Regions from separate parts of the Homo sapiens genome. Here region 2 is linked to region 1. The links are contacts of gene promoters, found by promoter capture Hi-C in human tissues and cell types (Jung and others, 2019). All regions are on one chromosome and are shown on one strand. The core of a region is centred on a gene start or on the middle of the fragment in contact, and the rest is flanking DNA. Distances in the headings are between cores, read along the strand shown.

What was found. The method cuts DNA at HindIII sites, captures the fragments that hold promoters and counts their contacts. A contact is called where the count stands out against the background at its distance.
Region 2: a contact is called between a fragment that was not itself captured here and the fragment with the promoter of SCN8A in region 1, in 1 of the 25 tissues and cell types used here (H1 embryonic stem cells).

The regions. Positions count from the first base shown.
Region 1 is chr12:51,587,927-51,595,638 of GRCh38, reverse strand. It overlaps SCN8A (sodium voltage-gated channel alpha subunit 8), which reads right to left and starts at 4,406. Exons shown (of 27, transcript NM_001330260.2): 1 at 4,280-4,406. RefSeq lists a silencer at 4,654-4,903. The HindIII fragment of the contact is 14,911 bases long and covers 375-7,712 here.
Region 2 is chr12:51,651,992-51,659,703 of GRCh38, reverse strand. The region is part of intron 1 of SCN8A (sodium voltage-gated channel alpha subunit 8); the gene reads right to left. Among named protein-coding and RNA genes, the nearest start is that of SCN8A, 65 kb to the right of the region's middle. The HindIII fragment of the contact is 4,254 bases long and covers 2,841-7,094 here.

The sequences.
Region 1 (7,712 bases), core at 3,157-5,656:
GTATTATTATTCCCACTTTTATAGATAGGAACACTGAAGCTCCAATAGATTAAATAACTTGCCCAAGGTCACAAAGCCAATACATAGCAGAGTCGGGATTTGAATCTAGTTTTGTCTGATTCCAAAGCCCATACTGCTTCTGACATTTTCTTCTCAATAGTGTAACTATAGCAACCTTCTTGGGTTTTCATTTCACCTTAATCTCTAACATAGTACTTAAATATGTGTCCTGGCTGTGTCTCCATAACTTCACAAAGGGATAATTTTTCCAGAAACCTTCTCCTTTGTCTTTTGACTGCATTTACTTCCCATTCTTGCACAAACTATTCTTTTTTAGGTTAAATCACTGGGCTGGCCCTAACAGACTGCCATACATTTCCGCAATTAATAAACTTACAGGGTAAGAGTTCTGTTTCCTTCGACACCTTAATAGCCACAGTTTTTGAGCACAGTATTATTTTTTAAGCGGGTGCTCGCCAGCTTAGAGAGGCATTGTACTAGTGTTCAGTTCAGTGCCTTATATATAGTAGGTGCAGAGTGAGACTATTTGTTGATTCATTGATTAAGAAAAGGTTTATTGATTCCTCAGTTAATGTGCTAAATATAAACAAACAGACTTTACGAGTGAAGTCCAATTCTATGAGTGAATTCTTTCACATTACAGTTTTTTTTGGAACATTTCTAAAGGATTAAGAAAAAGGTAAATTGAGATACAACAATCTGTTTAAGTCCCTAAATGACTAGCAAGTGAACTATAAAATTAAGAGCTTAAAGGGCTCAGTTTTAAAATACTATCATTCTGGATAACTTTACAAGCGCTTCTTTCCCTCTCTATGGGAAAAAAAAAGACTGGAAAAACATAATAAAACACAGATAATTGTTTTGCTTATGGTAGAAGCAAAGATGGTAAGGATGGTAAAACTAAGGATGACTTTTTCCCTGTTTTTACATATATTAAAATTTTTCTGCAATAAGTATGTATTTTTATAATTATGGTAACTGATCTCACTCTGGATATACTTTGGATTTTTAACGCTTTCTATATAGTATAGCTTTAGTGTCCTTAGACATAATCCATAGGAATTAAATATTCATTAATTCAAGCATGTGCCTTCTAGAACAATTTGTTACATAATACCAGCACATTAAAGATAATTATTTTTCTTTCCATTCACAGAATGTTTTTCTTGCTTTAGGTGGACATGTCTCTATTTTTGCATTCTTTTCAAGTAAGTGCAAGTTTCTTGTATGTTCTCTACAGAAAAATGGTTCTCAATCTTTTCTTGGAAACAAGCACAAGAATGGCATTTACCCCGATATAGCTCCAATTTATATGTCTTTCAACTTTATGTATATTACCTTTTCAATGAGATTAAAATACTTTGATCACAGTGGAATCCAAATGGAATGAGCTACGTTATGTGGCAGTAAGTTCCCTACCAACGGATGTATTCAAAGCAAAGATCTCCCATAAAGGAGATTCCTGTATTGGGTGGGAGGTGGTACCATGTGAATTTTATGGCCTCCTTCCTATTTTATGATTTTAAAATAGTTTTTTGGATAAATCGACTTTAGTAATACTGACCTCTGCTGTGTCAAGTGCCTTTCCCAGTTCACTATTCAAATCAACCCACAGAAGACGCTCTCCTGATCCAGTTTAATTTAGCCAGCTATCGGATTACTTCCTGTGGAGACCAAGAATATTAACAGTTGCTTGCTATTTGAAATGACTGAAGTGTGCTGAAATAATGCAGTCAGCAAAATGTCACTTATGGCTTACATATGGATCTGTTGCAGCCTGTAAAACATTGTCTCCATGAGGGACAGCCAAAATGAAGAGTTATGTGGGAGTAATAAAATATGATAACTAGGCCTCAACCTCAAGTACAAACCCAGCTGCGCATGTACATACACATCCACGAGAAAGCCTGCTGATAATAAAAAGCAAAAAAAAACTCAATCATGTCCAGTGTGTGTGCACTTCGCCGCAGAACTGGTCGGGGAACTGTCCTTTCAGCACCACAGCAAGAAACCTGAATACAAGCCTAAACACAGGCAACCCAAAGCTGGACCAGGAGAAAAAATTCTTAAGGGTCCTACAAGGAAAGCAACAGCAACCGTATGGTTGTTTTTAAGGATGCAGTATTCCACTTGATTATCCTTTATTAATTTAAAACAAAATCCTCCAAAGATTTTGATAAAAGTTGACAAAACCCCAAATGAAAACCAAAGCTGCTCAAACTGAAGCCAAGAAACCAATAACTGATCTGCACCATTATGAACTGCTTTGCAATACCCACCACCAGCTCTACTCAGAAACACAACACATTTACATATACCCTGAATCAGATGTTCAGAGAACACGGAACATGCTTGCAGCCCTCTCCAGGGAGGACCTCAATTTCTAGGACAGGGAATGCGTGCTGAACACCAAAGGATCACTACCCACAACCACCACCTCACCAACCAGCAACCAAATCCTCTTTCAGGGAGAAATGAAGGCCTTATGGGTCATGAGCTCCAAAGAAAAATGCTGCAGTATTTCAAGAACCAGGTTACATGTAATGTGCTATAAAGCTTTCAGCATTTTAAGTCTGATTCCCCCAAGATTCCTACCAGGATGGTACCGTGTGGTAATGTTATCCAGCCATTTGCATCACAAATCAAAAAAAAAATTTTTTTTGAGAAAAGAATAAAAGCACAACATCCCCCCCTCCACATCTTCTAATGCACGTGGAGAAAAGAGAAGTGCAGAGGGATTTTGAGACAGTGAAAAACCTACCACACCCGAAATCTCCATTGGAAAGCTAAAACATCCCCCAGCCCTAACACACTGCTACCTCTCTCTAAAGGCTCTCCAGGTTCAAACTTGGGAAAACAGTTATAAAAAGCACTCTCCCCCTTTACCCCCATGGCCCCCACCCACACTTCCTGCTTCCATCCCTGACTCTCTGGTGCCCACTGTGCATAAAAAGCAGTTTTCCTTGTGTGGCAGAGCTTGCTCCATGCTAATTATTTCTCCCTCCCCCTGACTTTAGCCAGATGCAATCCAAAGTTTCTTCTACCCTCCCCCCAAACAGATGACATCCATTTATTATGAACGCTGATGCAGAACCTTGGAATCTCCGGACATAAAATGTATTCCCTCATGCTTCAAAAACTGCAGTGTAAGTGAGGAAGAGGGCATAGGGTGGAGTAGTCGGATGGAATGCATGGTTTGAAGAATCCTATTTATCGGGCTGAAAAATGGTTCCCATTCCATCCCAACTCGAAGCTGGGGCCCCTGAAAGGGTCTGACAGTCCTGGCTAACCCCTGGAAAGTTAGCCAAGTCTCCACCGGTGGTTGTTGCTGGCAATGGAGGGGATGGAGCTGAGCTCTCAGGAGAAACTGCAGAGGCTTTGCGGTGCCCCAAGGTACCAAGTGAGAACTAGAGAGGAGGGTCCAAGCCCACGGAGCTGGGCAAACAGTCCTGTACCCCAACGCTAACAAGAAGCCAAGGGTGCTGCTGCTGATGGTAAGGTGGGGGAGGGAGAGGAGAGGAACAAGCTCTGCATCGGGTGGCGTGGGGGTGGGGGGTGGGGGTGGGGGTGGGATGGGGGAAGGGGATATTCTCAAAGTGATGTGCTTCCAAATGCAGGAATCCTCGCCTGCCGAGGAAGGTCCCGGGAGCCCCCATCACAACTCCAGAGCACCCTGTTGGGAGGGGGACGAACGCATCCGAGTAAAGGACAGAGGGAGTCGGGAGTGCTGGCTGCGGGAAGAACCCAGGAGCCCTTGGCTTCTGCAGTTTTTAGCAGTGTGAAGCCGGCTGAGGGAGAAGGATGCAGTAAGACATGGGGGAGGGGGAGGGCTGAGGGGCTGCTGTAGGAAGATCCCGACAGCGCTGCCCTTCCCAGTGCAAGCCGGCTAGGGGCCCCAACTCTGCCCGGCACTGAGGGAGGGATGGAGGGCTGCACCGCGGAAGGGGCACCAAGGACGGGCCGTGTCCCTCACTGTAGCCGAGACGGAGAAAGCAGGGTGTCCGGGGTGGGGACTGGTGGTCCTCAGTTCTCTTAAGAGACCCCCGGTACACACAGTAGAAGGAAGCAAGAGTTCCAAACACCTGTCCAAAACAAGGAGAGCAGAGCCCCAGCTCCACGGCCCCTGGAGCCCCGCCGCGCACTCTGCGGCAAAGCCCCTGACTGGAGATGGGCGAGCCCCGCTCAAGGGTCCCGAGGCGAGAAGGGAAACCCGGAGGGCAGGAAGCAGCGCTAGGGCGGGGGCTCTGGGGCGACTTACGGCAGCGGCGGCGGCGAGGGAGGCAGCGGCGGCCCTAACGCGGGGCCCGGGAGGCGCGGCCGGACTGCAAAGGCGCCGAGGATGCGGCGGGCGGGACTGCGGTGGGCGCCATCTTGGAGCGCTCCCCGCGCCCGCCCCCCGCACCGCCCGAGTCCTTGCATAATTGATGACTCGCGCCCGCCGCGCGCCACCGCGCGCGCGCCCCTACTGCCGGGCCCCCCGCCCGCCCCGCCCCCGCGCCTACCCCTCCGCGCGCGCCCCCTGCCCGGGCCGGCCCCGGCCCGCAAGCGCCGCTGCCACCGCCCCCGCCCCCTCCCTGCGCTTCGCGCCCGCCCGCCCGCGCCCCCGCGGCCCACCTACCCCTGCAGGGCGCGCCCGCTCGCCCGCTCGCCTGCAGCGCGCCGCCCGCCCGCAGGCTCTCAGACTCGCGTCTCCGCGCCGCCGGGAGCGGATCAGGGGCAAGAGGGAACAGGGCGCCGGCAGGGGGCGCCGCGCGGGAGCGCCAGCGAGCGTCCCCGGGCCCGCCTCCACTACGCCCCCGCCGAGCCGCCGGGAGGGGCCGCGGGCTGAGGACCGGGACCCGCCGCGAGACGCTGGCTGGCTGCTCGCCAGCGCCGGGCGGCGAGACCCGAAAGCTGTCGTGGTGACCCGCGTGCTCTGTGGCCCGCGTCAGTGCCAAGTCTTACCTTTCTCCTGCCCCCCAACAGTGCCGCGCTCAGTGAAGTTTCTGACATCCAAAAGCGCAGGGAACTCAATTTACAGGATCTTGGGCCCACTGAAAAAACGAGAAGTCAATCAGCGGCAGGTGGAGGCTCGTGTTTCAGCCCACAGGGACCTGCTGCCAGGAGCGGGGAGGCGCTGCCTCCCTGACAGCCCCCAGGCCACCTCAGTCTTTCCGATCCTCAGTCTGTCCATCTGTAAAGTAGGCATGAGCATTTCGACCGCTCACTCCACCCTCGCGAGGATCTAGGTAATGAGTGCCAGAGCTCTTGGCACTTTACTGTGTCTCTCCTCTACTTAATATTTTCCTACCACCAATCACAAGAGGGAAAAAGGGTGTAACAACCTCTCCAAACCTCAGTGTTCTCGTCTGTAAAAGGAAACAGTCACAGTAGCAACCTTATAAACTTCTTGTTTGTACTAACGGGGAGCATGCACTTCACACATTGCTAACACAGCCAGGCACATGGTATGCTTATCACATAATGTGCCCTCTACAATACATTTAAAATTAGCTTTACTGGGGTATATTTGCGTGTGTTTAGATTGTACAATTTTGAGTTATGTGTGCACTCATGAAACCATCACCACCAAGGTAATGAACACACCCATCACCTCCAAAAATTTCTCCGTGTGCTTCTTTGTAATCACTCCCTGCATCGCTCGCCCCCACACACCCTCTCCAGGCAACCACTGATCTTCTTTCTATTACTGTACATTGGTTTGCATTTTCCGGAATTTTAAATAAATGGAATCATACAGTACAAACTCTCTTTTTTGTATGGCTTCTTCCACTCGGCATAATCGTTTTGAGATTATTCAGTCGTTGCCTATCAAGAGTTCTTTTTTACTGCTTAGTAGTATTCTTTATGGGGATACACCACAATGTGTTTATCCAGTCACCTGTTGATGACATTTAGGTTATTTCCAATGTTTGTCCGTTACGAACAAAGCTGTTATGAGCTTTCGTGTGCAGGTCTTTGTATGGATATATATGCTTTCGTTTCTCGTGGGTATAAATATCTAGGAATGGAATAACTGAGTCCTGTCTTAGGTGTATATTTAACATATTAAGAAAGGGCCAAACTGCCTTCCAAAGTGGTTGTGCCTTTCCATTCCTACTAGCAGCACATGAATTTCAGTTGTTCTACATCCTCACCAACATTTGGAGTGATCAGTCTTTTTAATTTTAGCCATTTGAATAGATGTGTAGTTTTATCTCGCTGTGGGTCTGTCGTCCATTTCACTAGTGACTAAAGATGTTGAACATCTTTTCATGGACTTGTCATCTGTAAATCCTCCTGGCGAAGTGTCTCTTCAAGTCTTTAGCCTATTTAAAAATTGGTGGGGTTTTTTCTTGTTAATTGAGTTTTACGAGTTGTTTATATATCCTGGCTGGGCTCAGTGACGCATGCCTGGTGTCCCAGCTACTCTGGACACTGAGCAGGAATAATTGCTTAAACCTAGGATTTCAAGTCCAGCATGGACAACACAGGAGACTCTGATTCTAAAATTTTTTTAAAAAAATTAAAGAGTTGTTTATATATTGTGGATACAAATCTTCTGTCAGACATGTGATTGGCAAATATTGTTTCCCAGTTTAGGCTTATCTTTTTATTCTTTTTACTCTCTTAACAGTGTTTTTCCAAAAGCAGAGGTTCTTCAGCCAGTTGTCCTGGTGCACACTTGTAGTCCCAGCTACTCGGGAGGCTCGGGCAAGAGGATCTCCTGAGGCCAGAAGTTGGAGGCTATAATGTGTTATAATTGGGCCTGTGAATAGCTGCTGCACTCAAGCCTGGCCAACATAGCCAGAACCTGTCTCTTAAAAAAAAAAAAATTAGACCTTCTTAATTTTTATGAAGTTCAGTTTATTATTTTTTCTTCTATGAATCATGCTTTTAATGTCATGTCTAATAAGTTTTTGCCCAACACAAGGCCCCAAATATTTTATCCTATGTTTCCTTCTGGAAATTTTATAGTTCTAGAGTTTACATTTAGGTTTATAATCCATTTTGAATTGATTTTTGTATGTGGTATGAAATGTAGTTTGAAGTTCTTTTGTTGTTTTGTTGCATAGATATATAGTTGTCCCCATACTATTTGTTGAAAACACTATCCTGTCTCCACTGACTACCCTTGCACCTTTGCAAAAAATCGTTTACTCAAGTATGTAAGAATCTAGTTCTAAACTCTCCTTCTGTTTCATTGATATATTTTTCTGTCTTGGCACTAATACCACACTGTCTGGATTACTCTGCCTTTATAATAAATCTTGAAATCAGGTACTTTCAGCCCTTGACTTTGCCCTTCGTTTTCAATATTGATCTTGCTAGTCTAGGTTCTTTGCATTTCCATATGAATTTTAGAATCACCTTGTCAAATTTCAACAAAAATCCACTGAGATTTTGATCAAGATTGCATTGAATCTGTAGATCAACTTGGGAAGAACTTATATCATAACAAAATCAAATTTTTCATTCCATGGACACTTTATTTTAGTCCTTTTTAATTTCAATGTTTTATAGTTTTCAAGATATGGGTCTTGCTCACCTTTCTGGGATTTATTCCTAAATATTTCATATTTTTGATGTTATTGAATGCTATTTTTATATGGCAATTTGATTATTCATTGGTATGGTATAGAAATATAATTATTTTTGTATATTAATCATATGTCTTGAAACTTTGCTAAATTCATTTAATACCTTTAGTA
Region 2 (7,712 bases), core at 3,718-6,217, 64 kb before region 1:
TAGTGGACCAGCCCTCAGTCCACCAGGCATATTTCCAAGGATCCATTTCCCTAAAAATCTGCTTTCATTAAGTCATTTCCCTCCCTCAAACTTACCAGTTATAGGACAGATTCCAAATTTCTGCCATTTCACTGCCACTCAAGGCATTCTACAACCGTATGCATCATAAACATTCTCTTCTATGGCTTCTCTGCAAGAACACCTGCGCTGGTAACTGTATTCTGAGTTTTAAATTTTTTGAAGGTATAATACAATAAAGCAATAAAGTATGCAAACCTTAAGTGCACAGCTTATTTTGTACATATGTATGTGCCTGTGTAACCACCACTGAAATCAAGATGTAGAAAATTTACTTTCAGCATCCCAGACAGCTCTCATGAGCCATCAATAACCACCCCTAGCAAAAGCTATTCTGACAGTTATCACCATATATTAGTTTTGCTTCTACCTGAACCTCATATAAGTAGACTATAAACATACTCTTTGGGTTCTGGCTTCTTTCACCCAACACTATTTCTGTGAAATTCATCTTCTTATATGTGTAGCAGTAGTTCATTCTGCATAGTATTCCATGTATGAATGTAGTACAATTTATCCATTCTACCTTGATGGGCATCTAAGTTGTTTATAGTTTTAAGCTATTATGAATAAAAGCTGCTAAGAGCCTTCTTGTAGGTGTCTTTTGGTAGCCATACCTTTATTTCTTTTTGGCATATAGCTAGGAGTGGAATGCTGGGTCAGAGAATGGCAGATATTTAGCTTTAGTAATATTCCTACCAGCAATATAAGAGGGTTCCAGTTGTTCCAAATCCTCATCAACACTTGGAATGACAGTCTTCTGAATTTTACCCACTCTGGTGGGTATAGCAGCATCTCGTATTTTTTAAAAAAGTAATTTATTGGGATGAAATTTACATAACATAAAATTAACCACTTTAAGGTGAACAATTCAGTGGCAATTAGTACATTCACACTACCAGTTATCTAGTTCTAAAACATAAGCAGTTTCTCTCCATTCCCAACCTTCAGCCTCCACCCTTTGCCATCAGCTCCTAGTAACTATCAGTCTTCATTCTCTCTCTACTGATTTATCTATTCTAGATGTTTCATATAAATGGACTCACACAATATGTGAGCCTTTGTGTCTGACTTCTTTCACTTAGCATAGTGTTCTCAAGGCTCATCCATAATGTAGCATGTATCAGTACTTCATTCCTTTCTATGGTATTTCATGCAGGGTACAGAATCAACGTACAAAAATCAGTAGCATTTCTATACATCCACAACAAACTAGCAGAAAAAGATATCAAGAAAGCAATCCCAATTATAATAGCCACCAAAAAAATAGTAAGACCTAGGAATAAATTTAACCAGGAAGGTGAAAGATCTCCCCAGGAAAACTAAAACACTGATGAAAAATCAAAGATCACGAAAAAAAGTGGAAAGACATCCCATGTTCATGAACTGCAAGAATTAATATTGTGAAAATAACCATACTACCAAAAGCCATCTACAGGTTCAATACAATCCTTATCAAAATACCAATGAAATTATTCACAGAAATAGAAAAAACAATCCTAAAATTTCTATGGAACCACAAAAGACCTTGAAAAGCCAAAGTAATCCTGAGCAAAAGGAACAAAGCTGGAGTTATCACACTATTGGATTTCAAAATATACTACAAAGATACAGTATCCAGAACAACATGGTATTAGCATAAAAAGACACACAGACCAATGGAAAAGAATAGAAAACACAGAATTAAATCCACATATTAATAGCCAACTGAATTTTGACAAAGGCACCAAGAACATTCATTGGGGAGGGATAATTTCTTCAATAAATGGTGCCGGGAAAACTGGATAACCATATGCAGAAGAATGAAACTGGAACCCTATCTCTCACCACATACAAAAATCAACTCAAAATGAATTAAGGACTTACATGTAAGTATGAAACTACTAGAAGAAAACATAGGAGAAACACTTCAGGACATTGGTCTGGGCAAAGATTTTATGGAGAAGACCTCAAAAGCACAGGAAACACAGGCAAAAATAGACAAATGGGATTATATCAAACTAAAAAGCTTCTGCACAGCAAAGGAAACAATCAGCAGAGTGAAGAGACAACCAGTAGAATGGGAGAAAATATTTGTGAACTATTCCTCTGACAAGGGATTAATATCCAGAATATATAAGGAACTCAAACAACAGCAAAAGACTAAATAATTCAATTAAAACATAGGCAAATGAACTGAATAGGCATCTCTCAAAACAAGACATATAAATGGCCAAAACGTATATGTAAAAATGCTCATCACTTATCATCAGGGAAACGCTAGAAAAGTGGATTTTGAAAAGTGGATTAAATTGCTAGAAAAGTGGATTTTGAATGTTCCTAATACAAAGAAATGATAAATATTTGAGATGGATATGCCAATTACCCTAATTTGATCATTACACACATTGTATACATGTATCAAAATATCACACTGTACCACATATTATGTGCCAATTAAAAATAACAATAAAACCAAAAAAACCCCAAAATATATATCCCAGAAATGTATATACCACAATTTGTTTACACATTCATCTGTTGATGGACATTGAATTCTTTCTACCTTTCGACTACTATGAACAGTGCACACACATGTACTTATTTTAGTACCTATTTTCAATTCCTTTGAGTCTATACCTAGGAGTGGAATTGGTAATTCTACATTTAACTTTTTTGAGGAACTGCCAAACTGTTTTCCTGAACTATTTTGCATTTTGTGGCTGAACCATTTTGTATTCCCAACAGCAATATAAGAAGGTTACAATTTCTCCATATCCTTGCCAACACTTGTTACTTTCCTTTTTCTTACCTTTTTTTTTTAATTGCTGCCATCCTAATGGGTGTAAAGTGGTACCTCACTGTGGTTTTGATTTGCACTTCCCTAATGATACTGATGCATTTTCTCATGTTTGTTGGCTCACTCTTGTCTAAATTTGTATTTGTCTGATGATACTGAGCACTTTCTCAAAGGTTGATTGGCCATTTAGACATCCTCCTTTGTGAAGTGCTGATTTAAGTCTTTGCTCACTTTTTCCTATTGGGTTAAACTGCATTTTTCTTACTAGTTTGTAGGAGTTCTTTGTGTATTCTCCATTGAAGTCATTTGTCAGATATAATATTTCAAATATTTCCTCTCTTTCACCTGTCTTAATGGTGTCATTTGATAAACTGTAGTTCTTAATTTAATTGAAATCCAATCTATCAGTCTTTTCCTTCATGTTAGTACTTTTTTATTCTAGGAAATCTGTGCCTATTCCAAGGCCATGTAGGTATTCTCCTTTGTTTTACAATCTTTATTATTTTACCTTTCTCATTTAGTTTTGAAAACCATATGAACTGATTTTTACATATGGTGTGAAGTGGAGGACAAGGTTCATTTTTTTCCTGTGGTTATATAATTGACCCAGCATCACTTAATAAAATGTCTGGTCACTGTTACTTTCACTGACTCCTAAAAATATTTTCATTTCCTTATTTTAAACCTCCTGACATCTTTCTTTCTTACCTAAGTTCTATTCATCCATTAAAACAAGCTTAAATGTCTTCTGTTTCTGAGGAAGTCATCTTGCACAGTAACAAACTTGTTAGATTTAGAAGGAACTTAGAGACCACCTAGTTCAATTTGCTTCATCCATAAGTTATATAAGAGAGGCTGAATTGTCTAACTGCCAATTAGTGACAGATGCAAAGCTATGACCCACATTTCTTGGCTTCCAATATAATGTTCTTTTCACTAAAACACCCAATCTCTAAGTCAATGACCTTGTCCATCATACCACTACTATATCATTGTGCATCTTCCTGCAGTGCTAAAGATGACACAGGCAGCCCAGATGATAAAGCAACAACAAAAGCAACTTTTGGCTCTGGCAGTTCTAAAAGAGATTGAACTAGACTCAAAGATACGGACAAACAAATGGGTAGAGCTCTCTTCTTTTGGTTGTCCAGGAGGATTAAGACCTTAAAATGCAACCAGCCACAGTGACTCATGCCTGTAATCCTAGTGCTTTGGGAGGCTTAGATGGGAAGATCGCTTGAGGCCAGAAGTTTGATACCAGCCTGGGCAACATAGGAAGATACCATCTCTACAAAAAGTAAAAAAATTTATCTGGGTCCCCCTGGTGGTCCCAGCTGCTGGGGAGGCTGAGATGGGAGGATCACTTGAGCCCAGGAGTTAGAAGCTACAGTGAACCATGATGGTGCCACTGCACTACAGCCTGGGTGACACAACTCTTGTGTCTAAACCTGTCTCTAAAAAAGAAAAAAAAAAAAGACCTTAAAATGCCAACTGTGGCCTGAAAACAAACAAAGTAGAATCCAAATTAAGGGATACGGCATGAAAGAGGAAAAGAAAACCAGTATTGAAATGCGGTTATAACAGGAATGAAAGGAAGAGAAGTCATCTAGGAGGGGCTGTTAAAGCAAACACTCCAGGGCCAGGTGCAGTAGCTCATGCCTTACAAAGTGCTGTAATCCCAGCACTATGGGGGGCTGAGCCAGGCAGATCATTTGAGGCCAGGAGTTCGAAACCAGCCTGGCCGACACAGCAAAAACCCATCTGTACTAAAAATACAAAAATTAGCTGGGCGTGGTGTACATGCCTGTAATCCAAACTACTTGGGTAGCTAAAGCACCAGAATCGCTTGAACCTGGGAGGTGGAGGTTGCAGTGAGCTGAGATCATGCTACTGCACTCCAGCCTGGGTGACAGAGTGAGTCTCTGTCTCAATAAATACATAAATAAAGCAAACACTTTATGCTAGAACACACAAAAAAATATGTTGGAAGGAAGATCAAATAAAAGGTAGCAAGTAGCACTAAGGTCTTGTCTCAGGCTGGGTGCAGTGGCTCACACTTGCAATCTCAGCATTTTGGGAGGCCAAAGCAGGAAGACTGCTTGAGGCCAGGTGTTCAAGGCCAGCCTGGTCAACTATAGTGAGACCCCATATCTACAAAAGATTTAAGGGGAAAATTAAAAAGATCTTGTCTCATACTTGAAAAAAAACAAAGTTGGAGGACTCACATTTCCTGATATCAAAACTTACTGCAAATCTATAGTAATCAAAACAATGTGGTACTGGCATAAAGACAGACATATAGACTAATGGAATAGATTAAAGAGCCCAGAAATAAACCCTCACATATATGGTCAAATGATTTTTGACAAGGGAACCAAGACCATTCAATGGGGAAAACAATCTTTTTAACAAATGTTGCTGGCAAAACTGGATATTCACTTGCAAAAGAACGAAGTTGGATCCTTACCTTATACCATACACAAAAATTAACTCAAAATGGATCAAAGACCTAAATGTCAGAGCTAAAACTATAAAACTCTTAGAAGAAAATATAGAGGAAAAGCTTCATAACATTGGATCTGTCAATGATTTCTTAGACATGACACCAAAAGCATAGGCAATAAAAGAAAAAATAGATAAATGGAACTTTATTAAAATGAAAAGCTTTTGTTGCTCAAAGGATACTATCAAGAGAGTGAAAGGGCAACTCAGAGAATGAGAGAAAATATTTGCAAATTGTATCTGTGATAGAATTAATACCCAGAATATATAAAGAACTCCTAAAACTCAACAACAACAAAACCCAGTTAAAAATAGACAAAAGACTTGAATAGACTTTTCTCCAAAAACAGATATAAAAATGACCAATAAGCACATGAAAAGATGTTCAGCATCATTAATCATTAGGTAATATGAATCAAAATCACAATTAGATACCACTTCATACCCATTAGGATGTCTAATATTAAAACACAAACAAAATTTCTTACCTAAAAACACATACACACAGAAAATAACAAGTATGGGTGAGGATGTTGAGAAATTCAGACTCTAGTGCTCTGCTGGTGGTAAAGGAAAATGGTGCAGCTGCTATAGAAAACATTACTGCAGTTCCTCAAAAAAATTAAGCATAGGATTACCATAAGATCCAGCAATTCCAAAAGAACTGAAAGCAGGAACTCAAAAAGATATTTGTACACACATGTTCTTAGCAGCATTAGTCACAACTGCCAAAAGGTGGAAACAACCCAAATGTCTATGAGATAAACAAATGGATGAATGAATAAACAAAATGTGAAATATACACATAATGAAATATTTATGTAGCTTAAAAAGGCAAGAAATCCTGACACATGCTACAACATGGAGGAATCTTGAAAAAATGCTAGGTGAAATAAACAAGATACAAAAGGACAAATATTGTATGATTCCACTTATATGAGGTACCAAAAATAGTCAAATGCATAAAGACAGAAAGCAGAATAGGGGTAATCAGGGGCTGTGTGGGAATGAGAAGTTACTATTTAGTTGGTACAGAGTTTCAGTTTGGGATGATGAAAAAGTTTATAAATGATCTCGGCTCACTGCAACCTCCGCCTCCCAGGTTCAAGCAATTCTCCTGTCTCAGCCTCCCAAGTAGCTGGGACTACAGGTGCCTGCCACCACACCCAGCTAATTTTTGTATTTTTAGTAGAGACTGGGTTTCACCTTGTTGGTCAGGCTGGTCTCAAACTCCTGACCTCAGATGATCCACTCACCTCGGCCTCCCAAAGTGCTGGGATTACAGGCGTGAGCCACCTCGCTTGGCCCAGTTTATATATTTAAAAATGGTTATGATGGTAAATGTTATGGATATTTTACTACAATCTTTTTTAAAAGAGAGAAAAAAATTTACTATGCCCCCCAACATATGCCATAAATGATACTCTGATGAATAATAGCTCACTCCTGCCTTCAAAGGACCTTATAGTCTTCTGAGGTAGTAGACAGGTAAACAGGCAAAGTACAGTATGGTAAATCTTCCAATAAAGTAAAACAGGCTTTTACAGAATATACAAGCAAGACATCTAACCAAGTTTGGAGAGATCAAGGAAAGCTTCCTGGAGAAAGTAACATCTTAGCTAAAGCCCACAGATGGGCTGGTAGGGTGGGTTATGGGAAGAAAATGGGTAGAGCTTTGCAGGAAGAAGAAATAGCATATTTAAGAGACTACAGACAAGAGAGATCAAGCCACTTGGGTACTGCAAGCAGTTCAGTGTAAGTGGATTTCAGAAAATCAGCTAACAGGTAATCAAGTACCACATCAGGAACGCAAAGCCCTGCTCTCATGGGAAGGAGTTTTGCTTTTATTCTGAAGGCAATAAGGAGATAATGAAAGCTTCAAAGTAGAAAATGATTTGATCAAAGTTACATTTTAGGAAGGTTATTCTAGCTATAGTGTATAGAATGAGACGAGGGAGGAATAAGATCAGAGTGAGGAAGACCAGGAAGAAGACTATTGTAGCAATTCCACTGAGAGATGACAGCCTAAGCCAGGCAGCAGCAGCAGGGATGATGTACTGGACAGTTTTGTTGACTGACTAAAAGAGGAAGGTAAGATATAAGAAAAATCAAGGAAGACACCCAAATCATGAGCAAAGGGATGAAAGGTAGTGAAATTCACCGAGACAAGGAATAAGATGTGATGCAGAGTGTTCAGATTAAGATGACGACTACTTTTGAACATGCTGAGTCTGAGGTGCTTTGGTACCTCCAAATGGAGGCATCATATAGGCAAGGATATGTGCTTCTGAAGCTCAAGGGAATGATTTTTTTTCTCATCCATACTTGCTATTTATTTAGTCTTCTTGTTTGG